Regions from separate parts of the Homo sapiens genome. Here regions 1 and 2 are each linked to region 3. The links are contacts of gene promoters, found by promoter capture Hi-C in blood cells and fetal thymus (Javierre and others, 2016). All regions are on one chromosome and are shown on one strand. Each heading gives the region's core, a stretch centred on a gene start or on the middle of the fragment in contact. The rest is flanking DNA. Distances are from core to core; before and after follow the strand shown. Region 1 overlaps NUMA1 (nuclear mitotic apparatus protein 1). Region 2 overlaps NUMA1 (nuclear mitotic apparatus protein 1). Region 3 holds the start of ANAPC15 (anaphase promoting complex subunit 15).

Region 1 (3,396 bases), core at 897-3,396, 73 kb before region 3:
AGAAGAAAATAATTAAATGCTAAATATAACTAAATGCTAATTACAATTAAGTGCTTCCTGACCCTGCAACATCCAACATGATTCCACATGTCATACCAGCATCAGTCTTGGAATTGAGCCAATTCACCTGGGCTTTGGCAAGGGCAAATGAAATGGTTAAGAGAGCTCTCAGGAGGGCAGAAAAGCTAAGGGGCTTATGTTCCTCAGTCTTGGATAATTATCATCAAGTATACCCTATCCATGGGCAAGATTATGTAGCCCTTGAGGCCAGGCATGGATGGATGCAGATAGCCCCAACTACTGCACTGCAATAAGGCTTTTCTGTGGCTGACAAGACTAAAGCTCGAGGGACCACACTTGGCTCTGTGGTGGGGCGGCAACAGCCAGACACTCAACTGGGGTTTCTTTAAAAAAAAGGCCTCTGAGCTATTAAATCACAAGGAATGAGGCTGAGATCACCGCTCCCCCATCCTCACTGCTGCCTATAGACTTGCAGTCCTTTTGATGAGGCCCAACACTTCGAAATTTTATCTGCAACTGTAGGCAGATCTTGCCCCCTTTGAAAGACTCACAGCTGTGCTACTAAAAATGTCCTGAGGTTTAACCAACCTCTTCATCTCAGAGGCAAAACATACAACCCTGAGGTCCTCCCAGGAGAGCCTGTCTAAAACTAGTTCCACTGTTCAAGAAAATGAGTGTCAAGGCTAAATATTCTTTTCTGTGTTCCCCAGGCACAGAAATACGAGGAACCCAATATTCACCACTAGGAACTCCTGAAGGACCTTGTCTGCTCTTCAGTTCTAAGCCTGTAAAGAGGTACTTTCCTAGAGACAGAACATCAGGGTGAGAGAGGCTTCAGGAGAGCCCCAGCCATTCCCTCTTCTCTGGGTAAGGAATGACTGAAGCCAGGAGCACAGCTAAGTCTTCTACATTGGGACTATAGCTTTAAGCAGACTTTGGCTGGGAACCCAAGGGCTCCCAGCCAGAGTACCATCCTCCCCACCCTCCCCCTGAAATCTGAGGCAGGCCCCACCCAGTACACTGGGTGATGCTGATGGAAAAACAGATCCTTGCGATTGTAGCCTGGAACCATTTCACAGAAGGATCTGCTGAGATCCACCCCAGCTGGATCAGGCACCCCCCGTCCCCCCCACAACCCTCACTCAATAAACAAAGAAACAAAAGGCCAGGCCCTCTGAGGGCACCTTTGGAGTTCCCATCTACCTGATTCTCTGAGAAAGAAATTCCCCCAGAATCTAAAACAGAGGCCTCACCGAGCTGGTAAGGCACCCTCTCTTTTCCCTGGTCTCAAGAAGTAACCAAGGACACAGAAGCAGTTGCGTTATAAACTTAAGGCCCTGCATCCTTTTTACATTTCCCAAACTGACACAATGCAGCTCCCCCACATCAGGACAAATTCCCACATTTACAGTAACCCCTGTTTCCAGAAAATAAATATCAAGATAAGGAAAGTGACACTAAAGAGACACGCAGCCACTCTGCCTGTACCCTCTCTGGACCTTAAAGAGTTAAAGCCTAGCCATGATTTCCTACCAGGGCTGAGGCTAATGTAAACCACCTGCTCAGACACAAGAAGCAGGACCAGAGGGTCAAGTTGCTGAGCTCTGAAGTCTGTTCTGAAAAAGCTTCAGTTTTAAGTACAGAACAAGTGATAGGCCAAAGGCCAGAGGGTCTGAGCTGCAGCAGCACTGCTCTCCTTACCCCGCCCTTGGCCTGGGTGCCAGCTCCTTTGAGACTGCCTCTTAGCCACTTACTGCCCATCAAGGGAACACCAGACCTACCTCAAGATAACACCAAAGTGACCTTTGGTCCCAGAGAGTTGTTAAACTATACCGATCTCTCAGCTCATGGGCCCTTGCTTCTGCTGAACCCTCATTCTCTTAGTGCTAACTCCCACTCCCAGAATTTCAGGGCCCAAAGCCCACACAAGCTCCCACCTCAAAGGGTCCTTCCCAGAACCCCACCCCCTTCTCCACCTGATAGTTCCAAAGGCCTACAGCCTCACAGCTCACAAAGGAAATGGCTGCCCCATCTGTGCGCCAGTGCTCACTTGCAAAATTTACCACCACTTACCCTGAGACGCTGCCTGCCTGTAGCCTAAGAATTCCATGCTCTGTACCCCTTTCTTAGAAAGATACTCCCCATCTGAGAGACACTCACATCCAAAGAGTGAAAACCCTGATCTTGGGGCTCCTCCTCCTCCAACTCTAGGACGGATAGGCCAGGAGGCACATGCAAGCAAACACCGAGATCTCACCTGGCAGGTTACCCAGAGGGGCCAAGCCACCTTGCCCTAGGCTAATAAGCTATAAAAACAGCATAGGAAATACTTTGCTGGTACATCCCCTGCCTCTGAGAAGATAAAAGGCAAGAGGACCAGTGGCTCCAAGAGACGCCATACAGAGAAAAACAATCTTTCTCAATTCCTGGGGAGTCCTGGGTAGACCGTCTGGTCCAAGTCCAAAGAGTTTCCTGAGGTCGGGGCAAACCAGTTTGGTCCATCTAAAGGGACTAGCTTGGGCTGAAGCCTCCTCTTCACACAGACCACTCCATCTTTGTAGCCTAGAGTTTGGCACAGAACCCCAAAGCCCTGGAGAGGAACAAGGGAGGGATTACAGAGGAAACCAAGCTTCTCTGGTTTCTTCAAAAGTGGCTTACAGATGTCTGCCCCTTCTCCCCGTTCTCTGGAGGGTCCAGATCAGGATGATGGCAAAAGAGCTGCAATCAGGAACCAGACCTGCAACCAGGCCTGCAGCCATGTATTGTACTGGGGCGCGTACACATACACACACACACACACACACACACACACACACACACACACACACACACACACACACACACACACACTGACCTGGGCCCCCCACCACTATATTCACACACCCTGGTCCCTATCAGCTGACAAAATGAACCTTTTTTCACTGCCCACCACCGTGCACACACCCACGGCCTCACGCAGAAATGGTGAAGCCCTCTCCTGAGCTGTCTCTACAGCTCAACGTGCAGGCAAACACGCTTTCCTTCTCTGAACAAAAACATGCTGACATCTACGCAAGGGGGAAAGAAAGCAACCCTTTGCTCTGAAAGGCGCCAACTCCCGGATGTTGGCAAGCTCTGCTCCACAGCGCCTGTTTCTGAGTATGTTTACTTGCTCTCCCTCTTCTCTCCCTCCCCTTTAAGGATGGCGCAGGAAAGGGAGGTGAGGGGGGAGAATCCACCCCACCCCCTCGTCCATGTTTGAACAAAAACCCAGAGAAAGAGTGAGGGAGAAAAAGTCTCGGTGCGGGGGGGCCTTACCAGACTCCTAAAGCCAAACGTATCTACAGGTTTTAATCCGCCATTAGCATTTAAATCTTGAAAGGAGAGGAGGAAGGG
Region 2 (3,512 bases), core at 363-2,862, 90 kb before region 3:
TGGTGAAACCCCGTCTCTACAAAAAATACAAAAATTAGCCAGGTGTGGTGGCATGCGCCTGTAATCCCAGCTACTCGGGAGGCTAAGCAGGAGAATTGCTTGAACACGGGAAGTGGAGATTGCAGTGAGCTGAGATCGCACCACTACACTCCAGCCTGGGCGACAGAGAGAGACTCTGTCTCAAAAAAAAATAAAAATAAAAATAAAAAGACTGTATTCTCAGCTTCTAAGCCTAGAGTAATGATTGTTTAAAAAATAAAAAACAAAAGTAGGTATGATCACTTGTAAATATCCTACATAACTGCTGCCAGGCAGCAAGGAGGAGCTCCATAGGAACTGAGATGATACAACATGGCCCAGAAATCGACCTACTCCATTACACACACTTTTCCTGAGCATCAACTCTGCCTTGTGTTGGGGACAGAAACAAACCCCCACCATACTTGACAACTCAGGATCCTAGTATTCCCCATTTCAGAGATGAGGGGATTCTCAGGAGTGTGTACCTACTTACCTTTCTGTAGGAAGTTCTCTAGGTCCTCATTAAGGTTTAGCCCGTCCTCATGGTCCAGCACAAATTTAAGAATGACAGCCAACTCAGCCTGGGCCACAGGGAGAAAAAGAGCATCACTTAGGTGTTAGGCCTCTGAAGGGATGGCTGCCAGGAGCTCCACCCTGGCAGTGCCAGTCCCCGGCTCCCTCATGCCCTAGGAGCCTGCTGGATCCCATTCTCCCTCTCAGAGCTGAGGTCCTATGACCCAGCCAACAACATTCAACTAGAGATATGTTCACCCCACTTGTCCCCTTCCCTCCCACCTCCCCTCAAGATGTACCGAAGTCAGAGTTCCTGACTGACTTAACTCCTGACCACAAGTGAAGTGACTGTTAAGGAAAGTAACACAATCAGAAAGTTGCTTTTATTGTTATTGTTGTTAAGAAACAAGATCTTGCTCTGTCACCCAGGCTGGAGTACAGTGGCACAATCATAGCTCACTATAACCTCCAACTCCTGGAGTCAACTCCTCCTCCTCAGCTCCCCAAGTAGCTAGAACTACAGACACACACTGCCACACCCAGCTCATTTTTTTTAAAAAAAATATTTTTTGTTGAGACAGGGTCTCGCTATGTTACCCAGGCTGATCTTGAACTCCTGGCCTCAAGCAATCCTCCTGTCTCGGCCTCCCAAAGTGCTGGGACTATAGGCGTGAGCCACCACGCCCGGCCAGGAAGCTTTTATATATAACTATGTTGGCCTCTTCCAGATGACCCTACCAGAGGAAAGGATGAGATAAATGAAGTGAAAGTTCTGTGGGGGAAAAAAAACACACACACACAGAAACACATATAGGAACAGAGAATAATTTCTACGTATTATCCTAAAACACATTACAGTTAAACATATGCACATAAAAAAGGACTTGAAAGTACATCCTTTAAAAAGTTAGCAAACTCTGGGAATGAGTTTATCGGCAACTGTTATTTCCTCCTGCATGCTTTTCAACGTTTCCCAGACTTTCTATGATGAATGGCAATAATTGCTATAACTGTATTTTTAAAAAGTCCAGTATCTGCTGTTCAAAGAAAAACAAGTCAGGTGAGGTGAAGCATGGGCTAGGCCTGCTAGGTGGCATGGAGGCACAAGGGCTTACCTGAATTTTATATTCAAACTGTTCCCAGTCCCTGGGACTTTTGGAGCTCATGGTAGAGTGGTATAAGAGCAGCATGGTCATCTAGAAGCCAAACAGGAGGCAGTCACTGAGTGGGGCTGTCTCTCTTCTCAGTGCCCCCATTCTGGGCTGTTCTGGGGACTCTGAGCTATTCCGGTGACTCTTCTAAAAGTCCTGGAATTCAGCAATCCCAGGCCACCATCCTTAACAGCTCCAGGAAACACTTTTTTTTTTTTTTTTTAATTAAGGATAGTGTACACTGTACAAAAAGCTGAGCGCCAAGATTCCTGCATGGCTCAATTCCTGGACTCATGGAACCCTGGGTGTGAAGCTTTAGGTACCCTCTATAGGCCAGCACCCAGAAAGAGCAGAGGGAATGACTTAAGACTGAGCTATAATAAAAATATGGTGATAGCCGAATGAGACCTGATTTCTGCCAGGTCTCCACCGAGGCCCACAGTAATGGTCTAGTAAACCATTGTTTGTTTCATAATCTCTGTCATAAGATCATGGGCTCCTAGAATCCTTGGGCTAAATTAGCCTCTGTCTCAAGACAGGTGGCTGCCTGGTTCTACCTCCAACGTACTAGAGCCCCAGAAATAAAGCACCCATCATCTCCCCTTGGGTTAAGAGAAGGCCCTGCAGGGTCCCTCAGGTACCATCACCCCAACCCTGCCCTGCCTCCCCAGTCTGGTATTCCATAGGTACCTTCGCCAGTTCCAGCTCTGATCCCTCTAGCACCTTCTGTGCAGATACCAGGCATTCTGGGGAAGAGGGATGTTTTCGATTTTCTGCAATGACAACAACGTAGAAAACAGGGTGAACTTCCTGGAAACCATACCTGAGATCCCAGAACACTGAAATCTGGGGAGCAGAATGGCTATCTCTGGTGGGGCTATGAGATGTAGGCCTCCTTACTCCTATGGCCTCTTTCCCCTGCCTTACAATTTTCCATCTGAAGTCAGTTCTATCCTGGGTCAATCCAAGGGCTACAGGGATAATGGAAGAAGAAAGCAGCCTCGGAATTCACAGCAACTCTGGGTCATGATGTTGCACTCTCCCACCCACTCACCAACTCTCAGCACCACAGAGGAAGAGCCCAGAGATGCCAGGTCACTTTAGAATCCTGTTCCAACTGAGGTCACAGAGTAAACCTATAGCTGAGTCAGAAAAGGACAACTAGGGATACGTGACTCTTATACTGCCCGAGGGTCTGGGCTCAAATTACTAACACCTTACTTTATCTAAATAAAGCCTCACCTTTCCTATAATTCTCTAGGGGTGGAGATGGCAGCTAGCTCCCCATGTCAAAGACGAGGACTCTGTGGTCTAAGGCTGGACAAGGGGAGGGGAACTGAAAAGCACTGTACTAGAAGCTTTGCATGTGTTCTTATTTAATCCACCCATCCACTTGAAGAGCAGTTATCTCCATATTATAGATAGGGAACCTATGTCCAGAAAGGTCACACAAGCAGTGAGGGGGGTCAAGATCAACCTTAATGTGCCTCTGCCCCTACACCTATCGCCTAAGCAATTAATTCAAAGTTATCTGGGAAAAACAGTTTTTCTTGCAAGGGAAAGAGACTCATTCTCTCTTCTGTCTCCTTGAAGTTCGGGGAAACAGAAACTTAAGGTGCTCAAAGAGTTAAAAGTGACAGGTCCCAAAAAGTAACCTTCTGGCTCCACCTAGATCTCCGAGAAGGGCTCTGGGACTGAAGGGACACTCTTCTTACACCAACTGATGAAGGCATCACAAGACCCAGGGGATCTGAACCAGCTGTTTTCATCTTTGTGTTAAAGAGTGGGGAGCCTTGAAATTTTTCTCCTCCAGACACCCATGAACTA
Region 3 (3,323 bases), core at 1-2,500:
CTGTTTGACCTTGGCTGAGTCACTTAACCTCTCTGAGCCTCAGTGTCTTCATCTGTAAAATGGGGATAATAACAATTATACCACTGTCAAAGTTATTCTGATAATTAAGTAAATAATGGATCAACAAAGCTGTTTGCAGGCTGTTCAAGGAGGGATGAGAATGGGAGTCAAGTGTAGGGATAGGAATCCAGAATGCAGACTGGCATTATGAAATTATACAAAATTAGAGGTAGCAGGGTTCTACTGAAACTATCCCTACCTCCTCCACACACTAAAACCTGCTTTTTGACCCTTTATGATGGCCCATACCACACCCACCCAGTGTCAGAAATTTAGGACACTAACGACCTCTCATGAATCACAGCCAAATGTCGGGGTGGAGGGATTGTAGCATATGCAAGCAGGGTTCAGTAAGACATTCTAGGAGGCATGAATAAGTGGATAAATAAGTAGATGGAAGATTGAATGGATGAACTAACATTATAAGGGTACAATCAGCTTTGAGCGGCTGAGGGAGCCGACCAGGAGTGCCAGATAATCTGAATTAAACTTAGGACAGGCGAACTGAGGCCCAGCGACAGGCAGAGACTGGCTTTAGGTCATACAGTGTGTCGGGGCTTAGAATTCCTCCGTGAAAGGGATGAGCAGGAGAAAATAATCGATGCCTGGTCCTGCTTTTGTCTTAATTTATCTGACCGACCCAGGGCCAGCCGCTGCCCTTCCCTGTATCTCAGATTCCCAACCCGCGTAATTAGGCACGACGGTAAACACCCTCATGTCCAAGAAGTACTGACAGACCAGCGATCTCGGCTCCGAAAGCCCAACCCACCGTCGCAAAGCCACCGCCCTTTCTTTGCTCATTACGATAATGACCATGCAGTTGACCAACAGAAAGAAAGCAGGGCGGGTCTCAGACAGAAATTTGGCCTTATAGGGTTGCTAAACGCGAAAAAAGCGGGGCCTGGGTAGGACCAATTAACTGAAAGAAATGCTGGGTGACAGGAAGTGACACCAATGAATGACGGACCTTGTGTGACGGGGTGGGGCTTAGTCTCGAGGAAGCGGCCAATGAGCTGGAGCTCTTTAAGGGTTAAGGACTCTCAATATGGAGCTCCTGGGGAGTCGGGTCAAAGGAAATGGGTTTCTCTGGGGGAAAAAGGAATGAAGGGGCAAGGAGACGGTTGCAGCCTTGCGTCTGTACTTACCGCGCCGGGAGGCTGCTGCCGGCGGCGACCCGGAAGCGCTTCACCCAGCCTGAGCGGAAGAACCCACCAGAATCCGGGACTCACCAAACGCATGCGTCCTTCGTCTCCTTTTGTTTTCCCCGCTCCCGCCCACTAAACCGGATGTGACGTTGACCTACCTTAGTCACATTGTTAGGGAAGGAAGTGTGCCGCGCCTACCTATCTGCCCCGCCTTGAGTCTCAGCCAGTCGGCGTCTCCATCCTGGCGCCAGCACTACGGTCTCGTTTAACCACTGCCCCGTTTAACCCCTGCCCTTTTGTTGCCAGTCACCATTTGCTTGTTAACCCCTTCTGAAGAAGAGCTGACAGCAACCTTTTAGTGCGAGGGCCATTCGTCCTGCTGCATCCCAGAAAACTAATCTGTTACTACTTCAGAATTGCTGGTTGATGTTAGGCCCCTCCTATCTGTGCTCTCTCAGCTACAGTTTCCCGTTTGAGCATATTCATTCTTTTTTATTTTTGCTCTGAACAAAAATATTAGAGTTACAATATTACTATATTCCAGGCCTTGCTAGAAACTGGGGATAAATCTAGGAATATGGTCGCTTCCCTGGAAGACCTCACAGTCCAGGGAAGCCAAACCCTGCAGACATGCAGTAGACTTAGTGGTCTCTCTTAAGGTTGCTTGTTGAGTTTTGACATTGGAGATTATGTACAGACTTGAATGACTAGTTAGCCTCAGGCACAGCATTCTGTTGCTGGGGGAATCAGCTGCCCTCCTCAGGCCTGGGCCAAGTACACTTAGAGATCGCCCTCGTCACCTCTCCCATCCTTTGCTGATGCCTCTGTTCTAGTAACCTCTGACTCAGCTTCGCCTTTAGAGATACTCATGCTTTCTGGCAACAGAGGTCCTTCAAACCCAATTCCTATTAAACTCCATCACTTACCAGCCTCTTTCAGGGACAGCAGTTATCCGCATTTCCAGTACTGTCCTGGCCAGATGTGTGAGTTTTGGCAATTCCTTTTCCTCTCTCTGGACTCAGCTTCTTTGTCAACCAGCATCATAATCTCTGCCCAGCCTTCCTTCTATCCTGGGCTGATGTGAAGATTGGATAAGAATTGTTCAAGAGGTCGTGTACTGTGCATATTGAATGTGATTATATTGCCAAATAGCACTGTTTGTTATAGTTTTTCATTAAAGAGTAAACTTTGCCTCTTGGAAATGACTACCTTTTTCATTCATTCAACAAATACCTACTGAGTGCCTTAGTATATGTCCATCACTATTCTTAGTAGTGGGTATACAATAGTAAACAAAACAGACCAAAAAAGTCCCTCTTTTCATGCAGCCTTCATTCTGAGAGAGGTAAACAATAAAGAAGATAGATAAATAAAATATGTAGTTGTAAGATTGCAGTAAATAAGAGAAAAAATAAATCTGAGAAGTGGGAATAAAATATTTGCAGGGGAGGTGTTTTATTTCAGACTGGGGGGCCAAAGTCACTGGGAAGGTGACTTTTGAGTAAAGGTCTGAAGGAGCAGAGAGCCTTCTGATATTTGTGGAAGAGCATTTCAGAGAGAGAGAATACAAGTGCAGAGGGCCTAGAATGGCTTGGGCATAGTGTCCTCTAGGGAGAGTAATAGGTAGGAGATGAGGAGTTGGGGAGCCAGTGGAGGGTTGTGAGCACAGGGTCCACACAATCTGATTTACAGTTTAACTGAGTTACTCTGGCTGTTCTCCAAATAGACTGGGGTAGGGGAGACAATGGCAGAAGCAGGGAGACCATTTGGGAGCCTATTATGATAATCTAGAGGTAGTGGATGAGAAGTGGTTGAATTCTGAATTTATTTAGATGGTAGAGACTACAAGGTTTGCTAACAGATGGACAATGCCAGAATAAGAAAGGAGCCACGATTTTTGGGCTGAACGACTAGAAGATTGGTGTTGCCACTTTTTTGAGTTGGGAAGGAATGGGGAGGTGATGAGGGGTTTGGTTTTTTTTTGACAGGGAGCTTAGGTTTGAGTGTGTTGAGTCTGAGATGCCCATTAGAGTAGAGATGTTGGGGCGGCAGGAAGGCATATGAGTCTGCAGGTCAGGGCAGAGATCTGGGCTGGATAGATCATTTGGGAGTCATTGG

What was found. Contacts are between HindIII fragments. The CHiCAGO score rates a contact against its expected background, and 5 or more counts as called.
Region 1: a contact is called between a fragment that was not itself captured here and the fragment with the promoter of ANAPC15 in region 3, in 11 of 17 cell types (naive CD4 T cells, total CD8 T cells, non-activated CD4 T cells and 8 more). The highest score is 13.9, in naive CD4 T cells.
Region 2: a contact is called between a fragment that was not itself captured here and the fragment with the promoter of ANAPC15 in region 3, in 9 of 17 cell types (total CD8 T cells, naive CD4 T cells, naive CD8 T cells and 6 more). The highest score is 10.2, in total CD8 T cells.

Annotation. Positions count from the first base shown.
Region 1 is chr11:72,037,641-72,041,036 of GRCh38, forward strand. All of the region lies in intron 2 of NUMA1 (nuclear mitotic apparatus protein 1), which reads right to left. Among named protein-coding and RNA genes, the nearest start is that of NUMA1-AS1, 25 kb to the left of the region's middle. RefSeq lists enhancers at 2,593-2,672, 3,153-3,396. The HindIII fragment of the contact is 1,004 bases long and covers 1,645-2,648 here.
Region 2 is chr11:72,020,690-72,024,201 of GRCh38, forward strand. NUMA1 (nuclear mitotic apparatus protein 1) reads right to left here. Exons shown (of 27, transcript NM_006185.4): 6 at 2,376-2,458; 7 at 1,650-1,730; 8 at 515-602. It overlaps NUMA1-AS1 (NUMA1 antisense RNA 1), which reads left to right. Exons shown (of 4, transcript NR_104178.2): 4 at 1-230. Among named protein-coding and RNA genes, the nearest start is that of NUMA1-AS1, 8.2 kb to the left of the region's middle. The HindIII fragment of the contact is 768 bases long and covers 1,229-1,996 here.
Region 3 is chr11:72,111,445-72,114,767 of GRCh38, forward strand. It overlaps ANAPC15 (anaphase promoting complex subunit 15), which reads right to left and starts at 1,251. Exons shown (of 6, transcript NM_014042.3): 1 at 1,206-1,251; 2 at 1-52. RefSeq lists enhancers at 521-1,058, 730-899, 1,059-1,596, 1,070-1,129, 1,230-1,289 and 1 more and a silencer at 1,260-1,477. The HindIII fragment of the contact is 5,139 bases long and covers 1-3,323 here.